Linked DNA regions of Homo sapiens: region 2 is linked to region 1. The links are contacts of gene promoters, found by promoter capture Hi-C in blood cells and fetal thymus (Javierre and others, 2016). All regions are on one chromosome and are shown on one strand. Each heading gives the region's core, a stretch centred on a gene start or on the middle of the fragment in contact. The rest is flanking DNA. Distances are from core to core; before and after follow the strand shown.

Region 1 (6,360 bases), core at 1,138-3,637:
TGCCACTGAATATATTAAGGAAACTTCTCAGGGGAAAGGAACACATGATACATTTATGGGAGCAGCTAATGGTTGGTTTGTAGGCATCCTGAGTAGTGAAAGGCAAGCTAGGCTATTCCAAACTTTTCTAATCTTTATGCTTCTTTAGTGGCTCTCCAGGTTATTATAACTTGTGTTACCAGGCTAATTACAAAAATGGATACCTCTTTAAATCAGGCCATAAGGCTGAATCAGGTCATTCAGTGAACTATGGTCCTTGTAAAAAGTAAAGTAGAGGTTCCTTTTCAAAGACTTTCCTCCTCATCTGATTAGGAATAAATAGTAACCTCTCTTAGAAGCAAAATTTATTCAAAGACCTGTTAACATTCTTAAATATCTGCTAGCTGTAATAAAGAAATCAATGTACTTTATGTTCTTAGCTCCCACAATTTAGCCTAAATATTTGCCCTGGCATGCTTATACTGGTCCAAGTGGGCATTAGGTCATAGCCTGTTCCTCTTCCTTATTTAGAGGTGTTTTTCCCTTCTCAGCATTCCACAAGTTACTTCCTCCTTCCTTTGTTCTCCTCTGCCTTTGCCTCTTTTAAGAATTTCTAAGTTGCTAGCCAATCAAGACAAATACAGAATGTGAAGTCCCGTTCTAGCCAATGGAAACCAGTCACAACAGTAAGGTGGACGGGTCAGGTTATAAATGACCCTGCCTCCTTTGTTCGGTGTACTCTTGTGGCAAAACTGCTGGCGAGTGTACTCTTTCCGCAGAAAGTAAAAATGGCCTTGCTAAAGAAATTAATTTTATGTTCAAGTGCTATTTCTTTACGGCACCAAGAAATAAGCATTTCTAGCAGTCCTTAACCGCCATAATGCCCTAAATTAGACCATGACCAATTGGACTCAAATACTTTGAACTATCTTTATTGCCTGAACTTTGAATTGTTTAATTTTGATCAGTTCAGTTTGTGGAGACTCCTGTTAAGGTGTGTACCTCAGTTTATTGCTATACTCCTTCTCGTGGCCATAATAGTCTCCCTGATGTGTTGTTGTCCCCTCGAGAGTCTTCAATGTCTCTATGCAGCCATCCTTTGTACACCAAATGGTGTTATTACAGTTAGAATAACAACATGAAGAAAGTATAATCACTCAACTAATTTGACATTGTGACTTCCATACTGAGACAAAACAAGGTTCTGGTCAATCTCGTAAAACTGAGAGGCTGACCCAAAGGAGGAAACTGTTATTAAATTAAATCTGGCCTAAAGTTGCCTCCCTACCTAGCAAAGCATAATCAAACCTAATATGTAAATAAACTGCAATGTAATTTGAGAGTACGTTCTTCTAACAAGTGGCCAAGTCTTGGCCAATCACCGCAGCGGAGCTTTTAGCCCATTACAGGCTGCAAAAAATATTGTCTATAAACGCGGCTTGCCCACTGTTAGGGGCTGGAGCTCTCTGAACCTTTACTGGCTCAGGATACTACATGATTCATGCTTTCTTTGCTCAGATAAACTCTGCTAAACTTGTTTGAAGTTTTTTTGTTAACAATATTTAAACATAAAGCAAATAAATTAATAAGAATCCTATATCACTAAGTTACAGTAATTAGAAAGTATTCACCTGAGTGAGAAGATTGGCCAAGCTGCTATCCAGTCTTCCATTATTTGACAAGACATTTCTTTCCTATGCTTTCTAATAGTATTCGTTATTCCAGAAAGGTTGCTCTATGACCTTAAACCGTCCACATGTTCACTGCACTGATAGACGTCCAACGTCAAGATGGGTAACTAAAGGTCAACTCTCTCTTTACCTTCCCTGAGCCTGATTTTTGCATTGTAACTCATGGTCACTAGACATTTGTTTTGGGTGTTCGCAGTCTACATTTATTTCCCTTTTAGGGGAAACAATCACTGTCCACGGGATTAAAATAATCCCGAGTTGATTATTTGGTGACATCAACCAACGGTGCACATTTTGGGTCCATTACCAACACAGCCAAGCAGCACATATTTCTTCAGAGCCTAGATATGCACATGTCATCAAAGGATAGCATTTTACAGAGTCAACACCACTCACTTCATAGAACAAGGGGCCAGTGGCTTTTCAGAAGAAGGGTCTGTTCTCGGCCCCACACCAGAACGCCAGCCGCCAGGTCCCGCTGCTCAGCAGGTCTCAAGCCCGCGCTCACTCGGGCTCCGGCTGCTGACAGCTGCGAGCCCGCGCGTGTATACCCGCTCAACGCTGGGACGTTACAGCCAGGGCCAATGGGCAGAGCGGGACTCGAGGCCCCGCCCCCGCCTTGTGGCGTCACGGGGACGCCGGGGGCGCGCGGGCTGCAGGGCCGCGTAGGTCCCCGCCCCCAGAGTCTGGCTTTCCGCGGCTGCCCGCCTCGCGCGTCTTCCCTGCCCGGGTCTCCTCGCTGTCGCCGCCGCTGCCACACCATGGCCTTCGTCACCAGGCAGTTCATGCGTTCCGTGTCCTCCTCGTCCACCGCCTCGGCCTCGGCCAAGAAGATAATCGTCAAGCACGTGACGGTCATCGGCGGCGGGCTGATGGGCGCCGGCATTGCCCAGGTGAGCGGCCCTCCCTGCAGCGTGCCCACGCGCTTGGCCGCCCACCCTGAGGTGGAAGCTCTGGCGCGACCGGCCGCGAGGGGCCTGCACCCGCCCGACACCAGGGAGTTTTCACCCCGCGCCTCCCGGGTGTAGTTGAAATATCTCGCGTCTGGGCCTGTGAGGGCCCAAGTCTCACTCCCCTCAAAATTCAGGGTTCTGGGCCGATCCTCAGCTTCCTCGTTTGGAAAATTCTGGCTGCCCCCAGGGCCCGCTGAAGGTTCCATGGAGAGTGGCGGTGAATGCATTTTGGAAGCGGGCCGTGCAAGAGAAGAAAGAATTGTATGTGCACAAGGTTCAGGCATAACGCGTTTGTTCCTGCTCGGCTCAAACGGGAGTTTGCTGCCAAAGACATGAACTGCGATCAGTTTTAATTCTATCAGTTATTTTTGATTTTTATTCTGTAATTGTGCAGTCTTTGTCAAAGTAGTTTTCTCTCCTAAACGGCCTCCCGGCTCTCCCCGGTCTTTCCTTCGCTTGCTAGGTTGTAAAGAATAGTAGTAGTCATGACTTTTGTAGCACTTTGTAAAGTCACCTAATGGAAGATTGCTGAGGTCCTGGTTTTGACCTTTGAAATAGTGCCGTCTGTGCAGAGTTCTGAGCTTGCGATTTTGGCGCTGCAGCGGAATAAGTCTCTCTCTTTTTTTTTTTTTTTTTTTTTTTGAGTCGGAGTCTCTTTGACCCAGGCTGGAGTGGAGTGCAATGGCGCGATCTCGGTTCACTGCAACCTCCGCCTCCCGGGTTCAAGCGATTCTCCTGCCTCAGCCTCCCGAGTAGCTGGGATTACAGGCGCCCCGCCCGGCTAATTTTATATTTTTAGTAGAGACAGGGTTTCACCTTGTGGGTCAGGCTGATCTCGAACTCCTGACCAAAGGTGATCCGCCCGCCTGGCCTCCCGAAGTGCTGGGATTACAGGCGTTAGCCACTGCACCCAGCCGGAACAAGTCTTTTATCCATTGTACATCTTCAGGGCTTTTCCATTGTTCTGCTGAGCTGTGGTTCAGGCTCAGTTGTGCGAGTGATTGATTACCTGGCTACTGTAATGCTTGTACTTTTTTTTTTTAAAAATTATTCCATTTCAGCTCACATTGGAGAACCATGGTTTTCGTATCCTAGCTGATTATATTCTTAGCATTTCAGTCCTTTGCAACTTGGTTTGTTGGGGAAGGCGGTTATAGTCATCTAATTTTTCTTGGGGACAGTACTACTGTGGCTACAGTCATGAGAGAGTTTACTTTTTCAATGTCTTGTTTCCAACCAAGTCCACGCTTTCATGCTTGCTTTTTAAAAACAAAAACAAAAAAACCTTTTACTATTAGGTATTATATATCTCAATTTTCTTCTCCTTGGCAAGTTTTTTACAACGTTTTTATTTGATTGCATTTTCTTCTAAAAGCTATATCCCTGTAATGTTTTATTTATATGACTTCTTACAGTCTCCCATTTCCTCTGAGACCATAATTTTGGACATACATTGCCCTTTTTATTGTGTGGATCCCCTGGCTGCTAGGTTATAGTATCCCCATAATCTATGTTGTATGTGGACTGGGAGGAGTAACTCCCTTTAACCTAAAAGTTCCACAGGTTATACTCAAGAGAAAGTTTAGTTTGAGTACGTTTGTATTCCCAGGCTCCACCCAAATCTCCCAAGGCTGTGAGAGTGAGATTTGTTGTGAGCAGGAATAGAACAATGTGTTTTTTAGAAACATTTTAACAACATCTTAGTAACAAAATATTAGGGCCTTAAGCAGCCTCCAGGAACATTATGGGAAATGGATCCAGAAACTTGTGGCTGGTGTCCTTGAAGACAGCAGTGGAAAAAGATTAGAAACTAAGTAGAAAGCGTCACTTCAACTTTTGTAGAAAATCAGAGTGCTTAGTTCTTTGAATGCTGCATCCATCATTGGCCAAAAATGGATGTTGTGTTGCATTAAAAGGCAGAGGGGCAATACCTAAAATTACAGGTATGGTGTTGGAGCTTTCACCTGACAAAGGAGTAAGGAGAAATGATTGACATTAATGGAGAACACAGGCTTGTGCTTGTCAATCAAACTCTTAAATAGGTGGACCAGGGAGTGCCTTTTGAAACTTAAGGGAAAAAAAAGCTATTTATGCCATAGGCTGGACACATAATGGAACTGTCATTCTGAAAGGTTATAAAGACCAGAAATCTATAAAGTGGACGACCATAAGAAACAGTTCCATCCTTATGTAACACAGTTTGGAAAAACCTCAGTTACTTTAGTTGACAGCTCCAATCCTCTAAAACATTTGTGAGCAATGCTTTGCAGTGGTTTAGCTTATCTGCTTTTGCACCCTACCCTGTAGCATGCAGTTCTAGGCAGTATTGCTTCATTCTTTATGCTCCTTGACCAACAGCTTTTGGCATAGGGTAAATCTGTTTTGCTTATTGAGTGCCAGAGACGAATTAGTTGATGTGTTTTGAGTACAGATGGGCTACAGTTCAATATAAGAAGTTGGATGGTCTGCATGCTAGCTCTGCCTCATGCAGTATTAACATGGGACTTTACCTCTGTGTCTCGGTTTTCTCATCTCTAAAGTAGACTAATGCTAGTACTGGCCTCGTAGGGAGAGAATTGAATAAATTCAATGAATTCATGCATATGTCAAGCAGTTACATATATCAAGCATATGTCAAGCACTTACACAGTGTCTGGCATGTAATAAGAGTTCACAGAAAGTTAGCTGCCTTTATAATAATTATCTTCGGCCCGGCATGGTGGCTCAAGCCTGTAATCCCAGCACTTTGGGAGGCTGAGGGGGGCAGATCATCTGAGGTCAGGAGTTCAAGACCAGCCTGGCCAATATGGTGAAACCCTGTCTCTACTAAAAATACAAAAAAATTAGCCAGCATGGTGGCATGTGCCTGTGGTCCCACCTACTTGGAAGGCTGTGGCAGAATAGTCTCTTGAACCTGAGAGGTGGAGGTTGCAGTGAGCCGAGATCGCACCACTGCACTGTAGCCTGGGCAACAGAGCGAGACTCCGTCTCAAAAAGATAAATAAAAAGAATAATCATCATCTTCATTGCAGTTGTCCTGTCCTTTTGCCCTTTTCCCCTCATATCCACTCCCATCCTGATCACAGCTGCTGAGGTAGGCCTGTAAGGTTTAGATGGAGAATATTGGTCATGATTCCCTGTTTCATCTTGCTTAATCTTGAATGCATATACCCGCTGATGCTGCAGCGGGTATGTTTTTTCAGGGACCTCTGAAAGGAGGGAGAACACTTTTTAGTTACCCCCCATTTTATTGTTAAACTTTAGTAAAGCCATAAAAGTACAATCACAAACTAGTATTGAGGTTATGTTACTGATTTTCATTAGCTTAATTTTCTTGAACTTTCTGACGTGGTTTTAATGTTAGTCAAGGTGCAGTTCTGCTTATAATTTTAATAGTTTTGTCATTTTAAACACGTCAGTTTGTGCTCAGAAGGATGAAAAAATATTTAAATAGATTTTGTGGGAGCCTGATGCATTTCTCAAGCAATTAAGCAATTTAAGACAAGTTCAGTGCTTAATTACATTTGATCAGAGCACAGGCCATTTGTACATGTGTATTTTCCGAGAGTATCTACTTTGCCTGTCATTTCTTTTGTTTGTTTTAAATTAAAAAAACAAAAAATCCCTTAGACTGCAGGTTAATATTTGAAGTTAACTTGTTTCATGTGTTTGCTTATTACACACTTCTGACTTGGTTTTGATTGCTAATTTATCTTCACTGGATACTTAGGCCAATA
Region 2 (6,360 bases), core at 2,151-4,650, 2.2 Mb after region 1:
TTTTTTGTAGAGACAGGGTTTCGCCACTTTGACCAGGCTGGTCTCGAACTCCTGACATCAAGTGATCCGCCTGCCTCGGCCTCCCAAAGTGCTGGGATTACAGGTGTGAGCCACCATACCCGACCCATACAATACTTTTTAAAAAAGGACCCATGTATCTCTAAAATAAATTATTGGAGGGTAAATATAATTAGAGATGCTGGGTTTTTTTAAAGTTCTCAGAAACCTCAATAACTATGCCAACATTTGTACCTGCCTGAATACATGTACAATCAGAATCTGGATAAAGGAATGAAGTTATGAGTTTTAACATTACAATATAGCCAAGTCATAGTTTCACTCAGATTACCTAGGGTTATCAACAGAAATGACATATGTGGTACAGGTAACTTTCCCTAAACCCTCCTAAAAAAGATAAATGAGAAGTAAATGGGAGCGGGTGGATGTGAGCTACATAAAGAGTAAAGGGAGGGCTGAGGCAAACTTTGTAGAATGATGTCTGGTTCCTATTAATAAAGGACAGTTTGGCTCACCTGTGTCCATATGTGAAAAATTAAGTTAATCATTAAGACAATGTTTGGTTAACTCATTTCAGAAAATAAAATACTTGGACCTGAAATATTTCAGATCACTTAAGCCAAGATAAATTCCTGAATTGCCAGAATGGTGCCACACTCATTTTACTTTGTTGTCTAAAGACTGATTAGATGGGGGGCCGGGCACCTGTAATCCCACCTACTCAGGAGGCTGAGGCTTGAACCCAGGAAGCAGAGGTTGCAGTGAGCCAAGACCAGGCTCAAAAAAAAGAAAAGAAAAAGAAAATTGATTAGATGGTTATTGTATATCCCCCTAAGTATTTCAAAACCTCCGTCCCCCTCATAACTCTTCCACTATCTAAGCTGAAAGATTCCTCTGGCCGGGCATGGTGGCTCACACCTGTAATCCCAGCACTTTGGGAGGCCGAGGTAGGTGGATCACCTGAAGTCAGGAGTTCGAGACCAGCCTGACTAACATGGTGAAAACTCGTTTCTACTAAATACAAAAAAATCAGCCGGGTGTAGTGGCGCATGCCTGTAAACCCAGCTACTCAGGAGGTTGAGGTAGGAGAATCACTTGAACCCAGGAGGCAGAGGTTGCAGTAAGCCGAGATGGAACAATTGCACTCCAGCCTGGGCAACAAGGGCAAAACTCCATCCAAGAAAAAAAAAAAAAAGAAAGAAAGAAAAAAAAGAAAAAGAAAGATTCTTCTTTCAAGGAAGTATATAAGGCAACTCTTAGATATGGAATAAGTTGACTTTGAAGTTTCCAGCCATTTTTCTTACAAATGCACGCAGAAGGTTACGAGGAAGATTTCAGGAAGAAATTTAAAGCAATCCTCACTAAAGGAAAAACAACAGTGAAATACTATGTCTGCATTTGAAAAGTTTCATTAAGTTCCAATGTTATACACTTTGACACATTTAGAATCACCCTCAAACAAAAAAGCAACAGGCAATCCTCTGAAGATCACAAAATTTTACTTCCAATGTGAAAAAGACTTCATGAAAAAATTTTAAGCACTAATTATAACTAGTACAAATACACAGATGGATAATATAATCATAAAATATTTTGCATTAAGCTGGCTTTCATCCTTTGGAATCCTAAACAAGAATTGCATGAATATTTATAATTTATTAAAAGATACATGAAAGTTCATATCAAAGCTCCAGCACAACTTTACATTATTTTCTAGGACCCCACACAGATTACACGTTTTTTCTCTATGTATTTTCTCATTCTTCTCACTCTTAACCTAGTACATATGCCTACATCCCAGTGCTTTCTAAAAATTATTGAATGTCATGTTATGATCCTCACACAAGTTTTAATCCTAAATCAATATGAACTGTGATACCTCAAAATAAACAGCAAGTGACATGAGTACAATATAGACACACTATATTCCTACAGAGCTGACCAAATTTGTTGCTGCAATGTTAATGATGAAATGAAACTCTGGCCTACTCTGTTCCATAGTCACAGATGCACTGTTTTCCAGCCATTTTTCTTACAAATGAATGTAGAAGGTTGCAAGGAAGACTTCAGGAAGCAATTCAAAGCAATCCTCACTAAATGAAAAACAACAGCCAAATACTATGTCTGCATTTGAACAGTTTCATTAACATTATGCTGCTATATTTTTTATGCTGCTATATTTGAGTTAAATGCTAACACAGGTTTTTAGTGCTTTTTATGTTCTTTAATCATGAAATTGTACATCGTGTTACTTTCCAAACTTCACCTACAAAAAAGATATAGATGTACAACTCCTTTTAAAATGTTTCACGGCCGGTTGCAGTGGCTCAAGCCTGTTATCTCAGCACTTTCGGAGGCCGAGGTGGGCGGATTACTTGAGGTCAGGAGTTCAAGACCAACCTGACCAACACGGTGAATTCCCATCTCTACTAAAAATACAAAAATTAGCTTGGTGTCATGGCAGGCACCTGTAATCCCAGCTGCTTGGGAGGTTGAGACATAAGAATCACTGGAACCCGGAGGCAGAGGTTGCAGTGAGCCAAGATTGTGCCACTGCACTCCAGCCTGGGCAACAGAGTGAGACCCTGTCTCAAAAATAAAACAAAATAAAATAAAATGTTTCACTCCATTTTTACCTTTGGTAAAAACAAATTTGTGAATAAAAAGGCTTCCTCAGCTGAACAGCATTTAATTCTTAAAATTCCTATACTATCTTATAGACTCTATAATACAGAATACAAAATGTTAAAACAAGTAAACCCTTTTACACCACCAAGGGAGTGAGTGGGGAGAAAAGTCAGAAAAATATATAAAGCTTTGAAAGGCTGGATGTGTGGAGAATGCCAGGAGAGGGGGAGGGTTTCATGAAGTTCTAGGCAAGCCCTTTGAAGACGTCACCTCACATACATAATGTTACAGCAGTCAGCACAGGCCTCCTGCTTTCCTATTGGTGGGCACCGTGTCAGCCGACATCAGAAGATAATCATCATTGGCTAGACAATTACAACTGGAGCAACTAGCATCCACTGCTGTTAGCACAAACCTGGCAGGCTGCTGAAAGAGAAGGCAGAGAGAGCCCAGCTTCCCTTCTCACTCAATGAATTATATGTCGCCTTAGCAATCACCAGGTGATTTTGCTCCCTGGCTAGCAGCACTTCCAACTTAAGTCAGCTCTTAGTGAGAAAAACAGGTAAAGGCCAGACATCTCATAAAAGAGCAAAATGTCTCTATTTTCAATGTTGTAAAATTGCAAGGACTTTTCAGTGAAAATTAGAATTCAAAACTCCTATTTGGACCTATGAGCAGACATTTTTCTCTACCTCATGTAATAAACTCTCATTGACCAGATAATATAACCAGACAGGATATTTTTCACTGGACATGTAGTTTCAAGATGAGGCCCAGGATGATTCTACAAGGGAATACACTTATTACTTTGCATTTCAATTGCTATTCTAACCTATTATATATGAAACTTTTTGCTAGCAAAGTAAAAAAAGTCTGCAGTATTTACTTTCATGGCTAGGCCAATGAGTATGAGGTTAATGATTCATTAAAGCAGCAATAAACTTGAAAACTAGCCTCAGTTGAACCCTTTAGGGTTTATACAAATGCTACTCCAAAAGTCGGGCCCCATTCCATTAACACGTGCTATGGTTAGTAAGTATGGATTATAGGGTATGTTAACATTAATTTGCGCTATGGTTAGTAAGTATGGATTATAGCGTATGTTTAATAAAGTATTCTTATTTTAGGTCCTCTTAAATGATGCTAGTTAGCAAAGGCAGCATACTGGCAAAATACTACTCCTGGCCATTCTCACAGTTCTTCAAAAGCCAATGTAGTTCACTTTTGAGAGAGGATGTTTTAATTCTCTAAATTAACAAGTTTTGCCTGTTACTAAGAAGAGATTTATAAGGACAACCATAAATTCCCAAAAGACAGAGTAGAAGCTTCACTATATCATGTTTTTCCTCCAGAAGCTATTTCAAACCATTTTAAGTTAATGAGTCTGAAAAAGGTAAGATTTTATGGTTTCCTCAAGTTCCTCTCTCCTCAAGAGGGTCTAAGCCTTGGTTATGGAGTTCCCTTCTCCTATTAAAAAGGGAGTGAAAAGAAAATCTGGTTCAAGACTTTTTGTCCTGCATTAGCTGGATTCTATTAAAAATAAAAACTAAAAGCTTTAATTTGAACCTCCCGGGTTCAAGCAATTCTCCTGCCTCAACCTCCCGAGTAGCTGGGATTACAGGCACCCGCCACCACGCTCGGCTAATTTTTTTGTATTTTTAGTAGAGATGGGGTTTCACCATATTGGCCTGGCTGGTCTCGAACTCCTGTCGTCAGGTAATCCACCCACCTCAGCCTCCCAAAGTGCTGGGATTACAGGCAGGAGCCACCACACCCGGCTAATAAAATTAAATTTTAAAAAGTGTTTAAAGTCTTTTTGGCTGTACAGTTTTTGGGGAGGGAGGAGAGATAAAATTGGGCACCCTGGGATATTGGGAGAAATGCACAAAATCTGGCATTTAAAAAAAAACATGAAAGTAAGACAATTAGGGTCAGGAAGAGTTGCAAGGGAGGGGTAACAGCCAGCAGGGTTCTTTGACTGCAATAAGCAATCTAAGAACATAACATCAACAGAGAGCAGAAGCCAGGAAGGGAAAAATCCCAAGATGTGACTCTGCCACGGTATGCAAGTTCTAGCCTGTTAACCTTCGGGTATTAACGAGTAGTGCTGGCAATAAAATGGGCACCAATCACCATTTCAACTCACTGGACATTTTCTCAAGAATGTGCCTTATGCAAAGCACTCTGCTAGGTGCTTTGCAGAATCAAGAGTGGGATGACAAGAACCGTAACCTGAAGAGCTGATGGTCTGTAAGTTAATAACCATGTATATAACAGTAAAGGATATTGCCAGAAGAAAGGTACAGATAAAGAACTAGGAGGAAACAGTGGTCAGAACCTAACAGGAGTAGATACGTTGGCACATTTTTGTCATTTTCAGTCCCACGAGGGCTGAGACCTGTCTGGCTCAGTACTGAGTGAATGGAGAGAAGAGGCGGGAAATGGTACCTGAAGCAGGCCTAGGAAGTGGCCTCAGAGAAAAAGCAACAAGTAAATAAGAGGCAGTATCGACTGCAGTGGGCTAGGAATGGCGGGCGTACAGTGAATGGGGTCAGCCAGCAAAGCGAGGGAAAGCGGACTCCGGAAGAGCAGGTTAAACCAGGACGCAGCAAGTCAGAGATTCGGCACAGAAGCAAATGCTGACCACACTGACCACACAGGCTAATGCGGGAGGACTGTGGGCCCGAACAGGCCGGCTGGAGGATATGACAAACATGTGCGGAGAAGACCCGGGCCCGGGGCTAGCCAGCAGCGCGGTTCCGGCGCCCGCCGGCTCCGGCCACCGCCCCCTCCCCGCCTCCAGCACCACCCCCTAAGCGGGAGGAGGAAGTGCATCCAGAGAAGGACCCCGGGCGGTGGGGCTCGAGGGGCCTCGGCTGCCCCGAAACGCCGAGGTCTATCTGCGGTCTCGACCCTTAGTGTCCAACCTCCTTCCGGACCCACCCCTGCACCCCCTGGCCTCAGCGGCCCGGGAGGGCACCAGCCCTGTGCCTGTGTGGCTGCTGCACTTCCAGTCCTTCCGAGCGGCCCGCGTCCCCGCCTCTTAGGCTCCGGCTCGGGCCAGACGCGGCCCTTGGGCCCCTAGCCCACCGCCGCCACCAGCCACGCCGCAGCTCACCCCAAGCAGGCCTGCCCCGCCGGTGCGCGCGGCCCAGGAGGCGGGCTCCGCCCGGCAGCCGCCGCAAATGGCCATTGGGGCCCGGACCAGCCCGCGGGAAGCTGGGAGTGGGCGCGCTCCGGCCGGGCGGGAGGAGAAGGAAGCGGCGGCCGGGCCTCCCGACACTGGCCGGCGACTCCAGGGGGCTGGAGGACAGGAAGTTGAAACCCCCTTTTCGCAGCTGCGGCCCCGTGGCACCAGCTCCTACTGCACCAACCCGCCCAGGCCACAGGCGCGCCGGCGTTTCTGGTTTCCAGTTGAAGAGGGCAGGCGGGAGGGCGCGGGGCACGCGCGCTCGCGCACGCGGCGGGCGGAATCCCCCGGCTCCCGGGAGACCCTGCGGCCCGACCCTCCCCGGTCAAGCCATCCCCCGGGCTGCCGGCCCCTTGCCTAGCTCCGGGGTGCGTTGGGCTTGAACTTTACAGATCGCCAGACCCGAAGTTAAGGGGAGGAGAGGAATGCCTCTGCCACAACCCTGTCTACAAGAAGCGAGATGAGCACACCCTCCTCTGTTAAATATTGCAAGGTGACACTGGATCGCCTCCCACACAGGGATT

What was found. Contacts are between HindIII fragments. The CHiCAGO score rates a contact against its expected background, and 5 or more counts as called.
Region 2: a fragment that was not itself captured here is called in contact with the fragment with the promoter of HADH in region 1 in 1 of 17 cell types (total B cells); the score reaches 5.0 in total B cells.

Annotation. Positions count from the first base shown.
Region 1 is chr4:107,987,502-107,993,861 of GRCh38, forward strand. HADH (hydroxyacyl-CoA dehydrogenase) reads left to right here and starts at 2,388. Exons shown (of 8, transcript NM_005327.7): 1 at 2,388-2,563. The coding sequence starts at 2,432. RefSeq lists a silencer at 2,155-2,384. The HindIII fragment of the contact is 11,946 bases long and covers 1-6,360 here.
Region 2 is chr4:110,190,994-110,197,353 of GRCh38, forward strand. The region is part of intron 1 of ELOVL6 (ELOVL fatty acid elongase 6); the gene reads right to left. Among named protein-coding and RNA genes, the nearest start is that of ELOVL6, 4.4 kb to the right of the region's middle. RefSeq lists an enhancer at 5,320-5,614 and silencers at 5,349-5,458, 5,659-6,288. The HindIII fragment of the contact is 1,138 bases long and covers 2,832-3,969 here.